Regions from separate parts of the Homo sapiens genome. Here all the other regions are linked to region 2. Evidence: promoter capture Hi-C in 16 types of primary human blood cells and fetal thymus (Javierre and others, 2016). All regions are on one chromosome and are shown on one strand. Each heading gives the region's core, a stretch centred on a gene start or on the middle of the fragment in contact. The rest is flanking DNA. Distances are from core to core; before and after follow the strand shown.

What was found. The method cuts DNA at HindIII sites, captures the fragments that hold promoters and counts their contacts. A CHiCAGO score of 5 or more calls a contact.
Region 1: a contact is called between a fragment that was not itself captured here and the fragment with the promoter of SLC75A1 in region 2, in 4 of 17 cell types (activated CD4 T cells, endothelial precursors, neutrophils and 1 more). The highest score is 7.0, in activated CD4 T cells.
Region 3: a contact is called between a fragment that was not itself captured here and the fragment with the promoter of SLC75A1 in region 2, in 1 of 17 cell types (total B cells). The highest score is 6.1, in total B cells.
Region 4: a contact is called between a fragment that was not itself captured here and the fragment with the promoter of SLC75A1 in region 2, in 2 of 17 cell types (endothelial precursors and total B cells). The highest score is 5.6, in endothelial precursors.
Region 5: a contact is called between a fragment that was not itself captured here and the fragment with the promoter of SLC75A1 in region 2, in 3 of 17 cell types (non-activated CD4 T cells, endothelial precursors and activated CD4 T cells). The highest score is 5.4, in non-activated CD4 T cells.

The regions. Positions count from the first base shown.
Region 1 is chr4:2,747,409-2,750,108 of GRCh38, reverse strand. TNIP2 (TNFAIP3 interacting protein 2) reads left to right here. Exons shown (of 6, transcript NM_024309.4): 2 at 2,164-2,454. Among named protein-coding and RNA genes, the nearest start is that of TNIP2, 7.6 kb to the left of the region's middle. RefSeq lists an enhancer at 2,272-2,321. The HindIII fragment of the contact is 3,160 bases long and covers 1-2,700 here.
Region 2 is chr4:2,933,474-2,936,173 of GRCh38, reverse strand. It overlaps SLC75A1 (solute carrier family 75 member 1), which reads left to right and starts at 1,349. Exons shown (of 13, transcript NM_001146069.2): 1 at 1,349-1,405; 2 at 2,230-2,421; 3 at 2,511-2,607. The coding sequence starts at 2,251. NOP14-AS1 (NOP14 antisense RNA 1) reads right to left here and starts at 628. Exons shown (of 4, transcript NR_015453.2): 1 at 1-628. RefSeq lists enhancers at 1-511, 1,769-2,636 and silencers at 900-1,009, 1,170-1,479, 1,709-1,928. The HindIII fragment of the contact is 5,918 bases long and covers 630-2,700 here.
Region 3 is chr4:2,699,635-2,702,334 of GRCh38, reverse strand. It overlaps FAM193A (family with sequence similarity 193 member A), which reads right to left. Exons shown (of 21, transcript NM_001366318.2): 19 at 1,791-2,655. Among named protein-coding and RNA genes, the nearest start is that of TNIP2, 55 kb to the left of the region's middle. The HindIII fragment of the contact is 8,988 bases long and covers 1-2,700 here.
Region 4 is chr4:2,731,276-2,733,975 of GRCh38, reverse strand. It overlaps FAM193A (family with sequence similarity 193 member A), which reads right to left. Exons shown (of 21, transcript NM_001366318.2): 21 at 1,403-2,201. The coding sequence ends at 2,108. Among named protein-coding and RNA genes, the nearest start is that of TNIP2, 24 kb to the left of the region's middle. The HindIII fragment of the contact is 3,689 bases long and covers 1-2,700 here.
Region 5 is chr4:2,802,804-2,805,503 of GRCh38, reverse strand. All of the region lies in intron 1 of SH3BP2 (SH3 domain binding protein 2), which reads right to left. Among named protein-coding and RNA genes, the nearest start is that of SH3BP2, 11 kb to the right of the region's middle. The HindIII fragment of the contact is 8,498 bases long and covers 1-2,700 here.

The DNA.
Region 1 (2,700 bases), core at 181-2,680, 190 kb after region 2:
TTGTCAGGTCAGATGTGGTGGCTCGTGCCTATAATCCCAGCACTTTGGGAGGCTGAGGCAGGCGGATCACTCAAGTCCAGGACCAGACTGGGCAAAGTGGTGAAACCTTGTCTCTGCAAAAAATACAGAAATTAGCCAGGTACGGTGGCATGCACTTGTAATCCAACTACTTAGGGTGCTGAGGCAAGAGGATCACTTGAGTCTGGGAGGTGGAGGCTACAGTGAACCATGGTGGCACCACTGTACTCCAGCCTGGGTGACAGGGCGAGACCCTATCTCAAAATAAAATTGTCATTTTAAGAACCTTTTTAAATTCTTTAAGAAGTAATTGGGGTTGGGTGTGTTAATTTCCTAGAGCTGCTGTAACAAAGTAACACAAACTGGGGGGCTTCAAGCAACAGAAATTTAATCTTTCACAGTTCTAGAGGCCAGAAGCCAGAAACCAAGGCATCGGCTCTCTCTCAAGGTTCTAGGGAAGGACCCTTCCTCGCCTCTTCAGCTTCCTGTGGGGGCCACCAATCCTTGGTGTTCCTTGGCCTTTATCCACAAGACAAGACGTCACTCCTATCTTTGTTGTCACGTGGTCGTCTTCTCTCTGTGTGTCTGTCCAGACTTCTGTCTGCTTACAAGGACACCAGTCCCGTCCTAATCCATTTTGTCCCCACCTTAACTAATTACATCTGCAAAGACCCTATCTCTAAGTAAGGTTTCATTCCCAGATACCGGGGAATGGGAGGTTTGGTTGTGGACATCTTTTTGGGGTTACCCACCACAGTGGAGTTTCTACCTATCCCATCAAAAAAGTGCTTGGAATTGCCACTTTGATAATTTGATGATAACTGGGTGTGGTGGCTTGAGCCTGTAGTCCCAGCTATTCAGGAGGCTGAGGTGGGAGGATTTGCTTGAGCCTAGGAGTTTAAGACCAGCTTGGGCTATATATAGCGAAACCCTCATCTCAAAAAAACATTTTGATGATATGAAATCTAAAATTATGAACTTGCTTGTGAAAATAGAATTTGGCAGGGCGTGGTGGCTCACACCTGTCATCCCAGCACTTTGGGAAGCCAAGGCGGGTGGATCTCTTGAGCCCAGGAGTTCAAGACCAGCCTGAGCATCACAGCAAAACCCTGTCTCTACAAAATACAAAAAAGTTAACCAGGCACGGTGGCACGTGCCTGTAGTCCCAGCTACTCAGGTTAGGATGGAGAATCGCTTGGGCCTGGGGAGGTCGAGGCTGCAGTGAGCCATGATTGTGCCACTGCACTCTAGCCTGGGTGACAGTGAGACCCTGCCTCAAAAAAAAAAAAAAAAAAATTGCTGGGCGCAGTGGCTCACGCCTATAATCCCAGTACTTTGGGAGGCCAAGGCTGGCGGATCATCTAAGGTCAGGAATTCGAGATTAGCCTGGCCAACATGGTGAAACCCCGTCTCTACTAAAAATATAAAAATTGGGCCAGGCGTGGTGGCTCACGCCTGTAATCCCAGCACTTTGGGAGGCTGAGGTGGGCGGATGCCGAGGTAGGCGGATCATGAGGTCAGGAGATCGAGACCATCCTGGCTAACATGGTGAAACCCCATCTCTACTAAAAATACAAAAAATTAGCTGGGCGTGGTGGCGTGTGCCTGTAGTCCCAGCTACTCGGAAGGCTGAGGCAGGAGAATGGTGTGAACCTCTGAGGCGGAGCTTGCAGTGAGCTGAGATCGCTCCACTGCACTCGAGCCTGAGCGACAGAGCGAGACTCCGTCTCAAAAAAAAAAAAAATTCTTTTAGCTGGGCTTGGTGGTGGGCTCTATAATCCCAGCTACTGAGGAGGCTGAGGTGGGAGAATCGCTTGAACCTGGGAGGTGGAGGTTGCAGCGAGCCAAGATTGTGCCATTGCACTCCAGCCTGGGCAACAGAGTGAAACTCTGTCTCAAAAAAAAAAAAAATTTGAGATGAAGTTTCAGAACAGAACATTGTAGGCTGAAAAACTCCAGAGTTAATAGTTCAAATGCCCAACTTCTGAGTGAGTAATTGTTAGTTCAAACGCCCAACTTCTGAGTGAGTATGTTTGTGTCTGGTGATGGGGCATCCACGCCAGGTCTTCTTTTGCTTTCTGAACATTTGCTCTTGACACTGCTTCTTTTAATTCAGTAAACTGTGCTTTTAAATCTTCCACTTAGGAAATTGAGAGGCTGACTGAGCGACTAGAAGAAAAAGAGAGGGAGATGCAGCAGCTGCTGAGCCAGCCCCAACACGAGCGAGAGAAGGAAGTCGTCCTGCTACGGAGGAGCATGGCAGAAGGGGAGCGCGCCCGGGCCGCCAGTGACGTCCTGTGCCGCTCCTTGGCCAACGAGACCCATCAGCTGCGGAGGACGCTGACCGCCACCGCCCACATGTGTCAGCATCTGGCCAAGTGTCTGGATGAACGACAGCATGCACAAAGGAATGTGGGGGAGAGAAGTCCTGACCAGGTAGGCCACAGTGTAAGCAGAGTGTGGGGAAGACCTCTGTGTGCTGGGAGCATCGCCTACAGGCCCCTGATCACAGAGGTGGGGGGGCGCCCCAGAACCCACTTCTGTTCTCAGTAACGAGAGTCAGCTGACGGGGCAAAGCTCACTCATCCAAGGGTTTCTTTTAAAATGATGGAACATGCAAAATGTAATAGGAAAGCAGGCAGCCACCTCACTGCCCAGCACCAGGCCTGTGGCCGACCCCGC
Region 2 (2,700 bases), core at 100-2,599:
GTGGTGCCAGGTGACCCACCAAGTGCTGATCTTAGGCTTTACGATGGTGATGTTATCGCCAGGAGCAGTTTGGGGAGGGTCAGAATCCTGTAGCCTCCCGCTGCGTGACTCTTCAACCGTAGTTTCTAATCTTGTGGCTAATCTGTTGGTCCCACAAAAGCAGGCTAATCCCCAGGAAAGGTTTCCTTTGGGAAAGGGCTGTTATCATCTTTGTTTTAAACTAAGTTCCTCCCACAGTTCAACCTGCGTGCAGCAGTAAACAAGGAGGGCATGGAGGTTAGAAGCAAAATGGAGCTGGTTATCTCACTGTCGGCAAATTTTGCAATGGCAGTTTCATAGAGATGCCTGTCCTCTGGGAAAAAAGCTAATAACAGGTTGTCTTTTTGGCTGCAGGTGGAAAACTGCATCTATTAGGAAGAGGTGGGGCTTTGTTCTTACCCACAATTGGAAGTTCTCTATGGAGTAAAGGCGGTATGTGTGCCACCTGATTCCTTTCCCCATGTGTATCTGGTTAGGGTCGGCCACGTGAGATCCGCAAGCATTTTAGAAGGTGGGAGGGGAGGTGGGAGCTGGCTACAGGCCAGGCGTTGGCGTGGTTCCGTGAGTGTGCTCCAGCCAGGCCCAAAGCTTCTCCTGCCCAGAGGGACCGTTTCCTCCAGCGTGGGTCGGGTGCTTCTGCGCCCGGAAAGAGCGCCAGCTCCTCCTTCGGGTGACCCAGGGAGCGGGGCTGCAGGCAAAGGCGCAGGCGGCCAAAAAGGTGCCAACCGGGTCCTGTGGCTTTCAGTTGTCTCTGCCCACCCAATTCACACCATCTTTCCCCCTCAGCCGCCTGTCCTGGGACTTCAGGCTCAGCACCAAACGCAGCAAAAGTAGGTGCACAGAGAGCGGGGTCAGCTCACGCAGCCCGAGCAGAATGGCTGTGCTGCCGCCCCAGGCCCGCGGCCACCGCTGTGTGTGTGGCAGGAGTCAGCCCCCCAGCGTGGGGCCCCGAAGCCCGCGGTCCTTCCACGGGGAGGGCCAGGCCCGCAGGGCGCAGACGATGGGGGACAGGCTGCGCCAGCGCTCGCCTGAGGCCCCGCACACAAACCTCAGGCCCATGGGTCCGCTCCGCGGGGCAGGCGTCGTGGGCCCAAGGAGGCCAGGCCAGGAGTCTCGGCCTCGGGGTTACGCGGCGGCGGGCAGCTCTTCCGCTCCGCTCAGGGTGCTGCTAACCCACAGCCAAGCAGCGACCCGCAGGACCGGCGAGAACCCCGCCACTGACTCCGGCCGGAAGAGAACGTGCAGAGATGTACGTCACTTCCGGGGCGTGGCGTGGCCGGGCGTGGCCGTCCCGCCCCTGGCGGCGTGCCTGGTGCCCTGTTCCGCGTCTGTGCGACCGTCCGTCCCGAGCGCGCAGCCGCGGCAGGTGCGGGGCGGGACCGGGGGCGCCCGGGGTGGGGGGCGTAGGGGGCGCTCGGGTTGGGGGTGGGACAGGGGACGCGCGGGGTGGGGGAGGAGACGGGACCCGGGGTACGCGGGGGTGGGGCGGGTGAGAGGTGCGCAGGGTAGGGGAGTAGGGGGCGCGCGGGGTGTGGGGCTGGACCAGGGGCGCGCGGGGTGGGGGCGGTGGGAGGCGCGCGGCGTGGGGGTTAGAGGGCGCGCAGGGTGGGGGACGGGACCGGGGACGCGCAGGGTGGGGGGCGGGACCGGGGGCGCGCGGGGTGGGGGCGGGACCGGGACGCACGCGGGATGGCGGAGTGGGAGGCGCGCGGGGTTGGGGGTGCTCCTGCGTCCGGTGTGCACCCCATGGCCCCCGCCAGGGAGACCGAGTCCGGGCCAGGGGCCGGAATCGCGGGGCGCGGGCCGGGGCTGGGGTTGGGGTTGGGATCGGGATCGGGATCGGGATCGGGATCCGGGTTCCCCGCGGCTTCAAGTTTTCTCTCGCTGTTACGAGGGCGTGGGAGGCGCGGCCGTGGGGTGGGGTGGGGCCAGGTCCGCGATGTGCTCACCCTGGTCTCTCAGGACCGTTGCCTTTGCGGCTATTTTTTGTGCAATCCCCGAAGCCTGCGTTTCCTGCTGCCTGGGTTCGGGGCGGGGGCATCGCGCAGGCCAGAACGGCCCCTGCGTCCGTAGGCCAGAGCCCCTGCCATCAGCCCCTTTAGGGTGCTCGCCGGCTGTCGGGTGTGGGGGTATGCCAGGCCCCGGAGGACTCGGCTTCCCCGCTAACCCGACCCGCCGCACCCCACCCAGGCCAGGTCAGAGCAGCCCACCATGGGATGGGGAGGGGGTGGAGGCTGCACCCCGCGCCCACCCATCCACCAGCAGCCGCCGGAGCGCCGCGTGGTCACCGTTGTCTTTCTCGGCCTCCTGCTGGACCTCCTGGCCTTCACGCTGCTGCTGCCCCTGCTGCCCGGGCTGTTGGAGAGCCACGGCCGTGCCCACGTGAGTCCTTGCCCTGCGGCCCACAGTGCCCCCTGCCCCCCAGGCCCATCAGACCTCCCCAGCCCTTATCGTGATTCCTCATCCCCTAGGACCCCCTCTATGGCTCCTGGCAGGGCGGGGTGGACTGGTTTGCCACCGCCATCGGGATGCCAGTGGAGAAGAGGTACAACAGTGTCCTGTTCGGAGGTATGGCTGGCTCTGTGCCCTTGGCGGGCTCTCTACGGTCCTATGTTTGGTGGACGTGGTCCAGCCCAGGCCCCTCCCCAATTCTCGGTCCTT
Region 3 (2,700 bases), core at 183-2,682, 230 kb after region 2:
AAAGGCTGGTAGGGCCGCATCAAATGGTCTAAGGAAAAAGCCATTCCGAGGGGGCTCCCACTGACCGAATCTCAGACAATCAAAACAGCAACATAAAGAGTGTTCGTAAAAGATTCTCATCTATAGCATCAAGTAAAACTTCGTGGATCTATCCTGATATAACTAAGTGAATGAAAAAAACACATGAGGTTGGAAAGCTCTTCCTACAGTTGAATGGCAAGTAACAAATATAGAAAGAATAATATTAGAAAATTCACCATTTGGGCCAGGGGTGGCAGCTCACGCCTGTAATCCCAGCACTTTGGGAGGCTGAGGCAGGCGGATCAACTGAGGTCGGGAGTTTGAGACCAGCCTGACCAACAAGGTGAAATCCCATCTCTACTACACAAAATTAGCCGGGTGTGGTGGTGCATGCCTGTAATCCCAGCTACTTGAGAGGCTGAGGCAGGAGAATCGCTTGAACCCGGGAAGCGGAGGTTGTGGTGAGCTGAGATCGTGCCACTGCACTCCAGCCTGGACAACAAGAGCGAAACTCCATCTCAAAAAAAAAAAAAAATCACCATATGACAACACAGTAATAAACATTTCCGGCAAGAATCATTAATGGATGCTACAACTAGTCGGTGAATGTTCAATAAAAACAGGATACTCATTTCCCCATAAGACACTTACTAATTAGCAAAGGAGAAATATTAACTTGACCGTAGTGAAAATGGGCAGACCAGCTCAACCCAGGATCAGAGTTCCCATCCCCAGTGATGGGACAGACACCGTCACCCACTTCCTGGTGGGATATACCAACAGGGACTGGCCACATCAGTGGTGTTGCCGCCAAAACATGGTATCTGAACCTGACTGGGAAGACATGGGGCATGCACCCTGACCAAGGGATCCTCTAAAAAATAAATGCGCTGCACTCTTCAAAAAAGTAAAGGTCATGAAAAACAGAGAAACCGATCCAAAGGAAAGGAAATTAAAGAGATACGACATGGGATCCTGGATTGGATCCCATGTCAGGAGAAACAACAAGAGCTTTTTTTTTTTTTTTTTGCTATAAAGGATGTTAAAAGGACAATTGGAGAAACATGAGTAAGGTCTACAATTAGAGAATAGCATTGGATCAGTGTCAACTTCTTCATTTTGATCACTGTACTGTGGTTTTATAAGTGTCTTTATCTTGAGGAAATATACATGGAAGTATTTTAGGTTAAAGGGGTATCATGTATGAAGTGACTCTCCTTCTGTCCAGAAAAATAAGAGAGAGAGGGAGAGAGAGAATAACGAAGCAAACATGGGAAATACTGATGTTGGGGAACTAAAGTTGGGGAACTGGAGGGGGTAGAAATCCTCTCTCTCTCTATATGTATTTTTTGAGATGGAGTCTCTCTGTCACCCACGCTGGAGTGCAACGGCATGATCTTGGCTCACTGCAATCTCTGCCTCCTGGGTTCAAGCGATTCTCCTGCCTCAGCCTCCCCGAGTAGCTAGGATTACAGGTGCACCACCAAGCCCAGCTAATTTTTTTTTGTTATTTTTAGTAGAGACAGGGTTTCAGCATGTTGGCCAAGCTGGTCTCGAACTCTTAACCTCTGGTGATCTGCCCACCCTGGCCTCACAAAGTGCTGGGATTACAGGTGTGAGCCACCATGCCTGGCCCCTCTACGCTCTTTTCTACAGGAGGGAGGCCACATGGCGAGAGCATGCCAAACCCAGTGTTTTCCTATACTAGCACATCACACATGGAAAACCAGGCATCGCTCAGAAATACCTTCCCGCTATTCTGTATTTACCAATTGAATTGTTGACTCTGTCTCCTTTCTTCTTCTTATTTTTCTTGTTCTTGCCCTTTGGCTGAGGGGACTCTGCCAGCACCAGCTTGCTGTTCTGCTGATGCTCACCGGGAGAGGTGGGCTCCATAGGGGTTGGGTTTGACTTTTCGTCCTTGATGTGGTTCAGCTGCTTTTTGTTATTGTTATTACTGTTGACTTTTCTCTCCTCTCTTTTCTGCTCTGTGATGGACATGAGGTCGACCACCTTAGCCTTTGACTCAGTCTGGGCCCGGGGCTTGGACTGCCCCTCTGTGGCCTTGGGGGGCTCTGTGGGCCTCCTCGCTGGCTCGCTGCTGGCCTTGCTGGTCTGCCTCAGCTTCTGCTTGCCATTTCCTTCTTTATGGTGCTGCATGATGTCGAAGAAAAAAGAGAGTGGCTCATGCTGCTTCCCATTCACCTCCTTGGGGAGGAGAAATTTGGAGTCTCTGGTGTCGACGGGGTCTGCAGCATCCCCATCAGCCCCTAGCCCTGGCCTGGGCTCTGAGTGGTTCATATGCCTGGATGGGGAGTGAGAAGAGGTTTCTGGTTCTTCAGTTTGCTCTAGTGAGCCATTGTGGATGTTTCCAGAGTTAGGAACAGACTCTGTTGCTGCCTGGAAATTTCTAGTGAGCATGTCCAACTTGGGGCAGTCTTTACTTGGCCTCTCCTTCTTCTTCTTTTTTACAGCTCTTAGCTTCTGAAGCTCCTGAAGCCGCTGAAATTCCTCCTTGAAACGATCCTCCTCTTCTTCCTCATCCTCCTCCTCCTCCCGCCGCCTCTGCTCCTCCTGGAGGTGCAGGTGCTCCCGGGCCCTGGCCTCTGCTTCTAGGCGAGCTTTCTCCTCCAGCTGCCAATGCAAAAAGAAGGCAATTTAAGACTACAGTGAGTGCTA
Region 4 (2,700 bases), core at 179-2,678, 200 kb after region 2:
TGTCCTATAAGCACCCTGGGATGCTGGAAGGATGAGTGGTTTCCAGGGAAATAGAGGAAGATCCTTCCTGGCAAGGGCATGGCCAGGACAATGGCTGGGAGCCTGAGGGCCAAAGCTAGCAGGTGCAGGTCAGGGGCCAGAGCGGGCAGAGCTGTGAAGCCGCAGGCAGGGTTGCCATGGAGGTGATGGGAGTGCCCAGAACTGGGCATGTGCGGTGGGCGTCTGAGGGTCTCTAGGTCCCAGCATGATGCTTAGTGTGTCGGGGCACCCAGAGTTCCCCATCACCACTCAGGGCTGTGCAGTTCCCCTCAGCAACAGGCATGGTTCAGCACAGTGTTAAAGGCTGTCCATGGGGAGAGCAGGGCAGGTACTGGGGGCCTGGGCAGGCAGCTTCCCCATAGGGCGAGGCCCGGGCCTGGGCCTTTCCCCAGCCACCACCGCAGCCAGAAGAGGCAGCGGCTGGAGTCCCGGGGGCCTGCACTGGGGTTTCAAGGACACTACTGTTGCCGTGGTCATGGCCTGACCTGCTTCACTCTCTGCCCTATCATCCCACGAACAAAGGAACGTTCTCTTCCTCACACCTGGAAAAAAAAACAAGTGAGGAAAGTTCGTCGTGCTGCACCTCCCCTGGTTGGTGACCCTTTTCCAGCTTTCGTGCAATCTCCAGAGTTCTAGGACCTGCTGTCCCCACCTCATTCTCCTGCAAACCGGTGCCTGGGTGGGGGTGCCCTGGGCCTTGTCTCCCCTGACCTGCCTCGAAGCCTCCTCACCCTCCTCTGCCTTCCTGGTTCCACAGCTCGGGCCCCCATCCCATCTACTCACCCCTGCAGGGCCCTCACACAGGCTCTGTCCATGAACAGCAGTCCCCAGTTCCAGACCTCTCACCTGGGTGGCCGGTGGACATCCCAGACTCACCATCCAGAACTGGTCTCCAGTCCCACCTCCAGGCACACAGCGCAGGTCTTCACCTCTTTCTCCTACCTGCATCCTGTCCACCAGGAAATCCTGTGGCCTCATCGTCCGAATACCTCCAGAAGCTGGCTCTCCCTACCCTCTCCCCAACCAGGCCCTGCCCTATTCACCTTCACTCAGAGTGAAGTCATACTCTGATAGGGCACACAGAGACAGGCTGAACATGAGGCTGGGAGAAGTGGGAGCTACTGAGTGTTCTAGGTAGTAAGAAGTAACCAGGATGCAGCTCCTTGGGAGCTTTCTGTCTCCTGCTGCCTGCTCTGCCTGGCACACAGAGGATGGTGGGGGCACCAGGATGGGTGAGCCGTTGCCTGGAGAGACCTGGGACCTGCTCCGGGGTGGTGCCCTGGCTCCCCATGGCGGACACATCACCTACACGCCCTCTCCCGCTATCCCCCCACTCCCCCAGCAGAAAGAAGCAGCCGAGGTCTCCTGCTGTACTAATGTATTCCATCTTTCAAAAAGAAAGACATGATTTTAATATTACTTAACAATATGTTAAAAAAGTAGCCAGGCAGGCCTCCGTGTTAATACAGTCGTACACTCTATAACAGACTTGATGGTGTGAGTACTGGGTGGGCTTGTTTTTAACTTTCTCGTTCTGCAAGGGATCTTACACAAGCTGGCTACAAGTCAGGGGGATCAAACACAAACAGCGCAACGTGTACACTCGGAGACAGTAGATTGTGGAGAACAAAGGAGGCCTGCCCCGCCCAGCCCGCCTAGGGTGAGACGCAGGGGCACAGGAGAGCTGAGTGACGGCCGATACCCCGGTGAGGACACATGACAGGACAGGGCGCAATGCAGAGGCAACGGAGCCACGTGGATGATGCAAACTCCTATCTGGCCACGGCCCAGGCCTCCGAGGCCGCGGTGGTGGGAGGACTTGGCGGGAACTACTGTTCCAATCCGACAGCACAGAGCTACAATCGAAGGAGTCTCACGCACAGACTACACGCACACGAGCTAACGGCGTGGGCCGAGCATCAACTTCTCGGTCTGGGGTTTCAGGCAGCACCAGCTCCGCACAGCCCTTGGCAAGCACCACGGCTCTGGGGCGCCAGCGAGGGGCGTGGCTCTTGGGGTGGTGCAGCCTGGCCTGCCTCTCGCGTGTCCCTCTCCAGGGAGTCCTCATTCAGTGGGCAGCAAAGGTGGCTTTTTTCAAGCTAAAATTGGACCAGTTGATAGACAGTCTTTGTCGGGTCTGTCTAGCAGAATCCAAGCAGAACCTGCAAAGACAAAAAGCCAAACAGTCACTGAAGGAAACAGCCCACAACCAAGCTGGTGCTTGGCAAAGCCCATCACACTCCTGTTCTTGCCAGAAACTCACTGCGGGGTCAGGGGTTTAGATTCTCGGTGAGGGGCACAGTGTCAAGGGTCCCCTCCAGGCCCTGCTACAGGCTGCACTTGAGAAGGGGAAAGGACTCGGGAGGAGGAATGGGTGGGCGGAAGGAGTCCTGAGAAAGAAAAGAAACGTTTAATCTGAGAGCTGTGAGCGCCCTTAAATTATCAGGCCCAGGCAGGGTGTGGTGGCTCATACCTGTAATCCCAGCACTTTGGGAGGCTGAGGAGGGCAAATCACTTCAACTTAGGAGTTCGAGACCAGCCTGGGCAACATGGTGAAATCCTTTTTTTTTTGAGACAGGGTCTCACTCTCTTGCCCAGGCTGGAGTTCAGTGGCAGTTTCGGCTCACTGCAACCTCCACCTCCAAGGTTCAAGCAATTCTC
Region 5 (2,700 bases), core at 53-2,552, 130 kb after region 2:
ACCCCAGCTGGCTGGAACCCCTACTCTCCGTGGGGCCTAGCTCATGGGCTCATGTGCTGAATTACACCATCTGGCCAGCCCCAGGCACCCCACTTCTTCCATCTCGGGGGACCCCTGGCTGCAGGAGGGGGGCACTCCAGGGGCTCTGCACCCACCAAGCGCAGCCTGGGCCTCCAGGGTGACCTCCCGGCCCCAGCATCCTCATCGATAGGCAAGGGCAGCAGCAGTCACTGAGCAGATCAGCTGTGGCCGGGACACCCCACGCCCACACCAGCCTGGCTGCTGACCCTCCGGGCCCAGGGGGTGTGCTTAGGTAGGAAATCTGCCGGGCACCTTCCTCATCTAGAGGAAGCAGAAGCAGAGGGCTCCCGCCAACCAGACCCTCCTGGGATGCGTGGGACGCCTGGGCCACGGGCACAGTGGGTGTGAAGGTTGGGGGTGCTTCCCTGCCCACAGTCACCTCTTGTGATAGGAGGGCTAGGCTGCTGGACCAAGGGAGGGGCAGGGAGCCCCCAAGGAAATGTCCACTGTGTTCTGAGTGCGCCAGCTCTGTGCCCGCTCCATCGCCAACTGCTCGTTTTGTTCTCCCGATTAGGACCTCGAGGCTGAGTGAGCTGCAACGCTTGGCTACCCAGCCAGCGTGGCTAGTGTCACCCAGAGCCTGGGGCCACCTGGCCCACCCCTACAACACAACCTGAGGGTGCCCTGAAAGCCTTATGGCCCTGGCAGGGCCCCTACCAGGCATTTCCTGCTGAGCCTGGCTCTGGGGTGGGTAAGAAGGAGAGGAGAAACCCCAGGCCCACTCTCAGAAGGAAGCCCACCAACCTTAAGGACAGTGGGGGTGGGCCCTGGCCTCTGTGGAGGGGGCAGGGCTCTGGGTAGGAGGCCAGGGGACACAGGGTGGGCCACGCCATGTGGGGTACAGGGAGGAAGCTACCGCAGGGCCCAGCTCAGCAGGACAGGAAGGCCTGGGGAAGCAGGGGCTCCAGCCCACCCTTGAGGAGTTAGGAGCTGCTTCTGTTTTAAACTGATCCCAAGAGCCCCTGGGGAGGCTGGTTGGGAAGCTCTCCCAGGCCACAGCCCCCTTTTGGGTCCCGCTCAATGCTGCTGGTTCCCTTGAAGAAAGAGTGGTCTGGTGCTCACCCTAGAGAAAACTCGGGCAAAGAAGCAGAGCTCCAGTCCTCAGTTTCCCCAGGAGTAACTGGGGCAGTCCCGGAGCTGCTGGACCCAGGACTTAGTGCTGAGGCTGCACAGAGGGCGGGGTCCACGCATCCGCAGAGACTCGGATGAGGAACAGGAGCAGGCGGTGCCGGGACAGAAGGAGACCCCCAGAGAGTTGCAGTGGAACCCACCAGGCAGCTGAGGAAACCGAGAGCAGGAAACCGAGGCCAGGGAATGGTGGAAGGTAGCCCACCTATTCAGTGGGCTCGGCTGGAGTCATGGTGAGGCTGGTCAGCCGGACCCTGTCTCTCTTGCACAGTGTCACTCCACTCGGCCTGAAGTCTCATGGTATCGGGCACAGGGGAGGCACTCAGGCACAGCACCTACAGGCAAACGCCACACCCTGCACCCGGGATCCAAGCTACTGTCACCCTCTGTCTGGGCTCCCAATCTGTTAGGGAGGCAGCCACCTCTGACTCACATCCTTGTGACATCTGTTCCACCCAGACACGTTGACACATCCGCCAGCGTCCTGGGAGCAATCTTCCACATGAGTTAGCCAAGCATGGGATTACATAGAGTCAGACAGAGCATAGCTTGTGCAAAGGCCCTGGGGTTGCAGGTAAGAGAAGGCACCCACCTTCTGACATGAGAGACAGAGGTGGGTCTTAGTTAGAACTGCCAGTCCAGGCCACATGCCCAGGTGAGGCAGACAGCATCTCAGACCTTCCCTGGGATGAGCTCCTGGGCACCATTCACGCCTGGGCTCCAGTCCCAGCCTTGGTCCCTTAAGCTGGAGACTAGGGGCAAGTCACTTCACTCCCTGAGCCTTGCTCCGTCCTCCCCCTCCACGCTTATTAGCAACAGGACTCTGAGGACCAAACCAGACAGCTCCCAAGCACTCTGCCATAGGCACTTGGCCCAGCACTGGGTCCCTAGGCCCTGGAAGTGGACAGCACCCTGCTTATCCCGGATCCCAGCACCAGGGCGAGATAACAAGGGAACAGAGTGGAGATGCCGAGGCCCTGGGGCTCCTGCTGGGGTGGCATGCAGTAGGGGCGCCAGTCAGAGAAACCCAGCCCCACTGCTCCCACCCAGAGCCAACGGCAGAGGTCAGGAGCCACCACGATGGGCACCCTGTGTAGGCAGCTGTGTAAGCCCTACAGGGTGGGCCTTGGGACCGTATAGCAGTAAGTGGCCTGAGAGCCCTGCGCCGCCTGTCCCTTTCACTCATCACCGTGGTACTTTTCGTACCGTGGCGGTCTTGGCGGCCTCCCTTGGACCGCACAAAACCATGCAGCTCCTGCACACACCTCGGGCTCAGCCCAGGCACTTTACGGCGTTTTATCTGGACAAGCTCCTGGGTCAGGGCAAAGGACGCTGGGGCCCAGGCGTGGCCCCCATCATGGCTCCTCTGTGCACCACTGAGGGTCCTTGGGCCCCTCGCTTACCCAGGAACCCTGTCACCATCTGTCAGCGGGTGCCACAGGCTGGGACCCACCAAGGCTGAGTCAGCACAACAGGGTCCCTTCCCTCTGT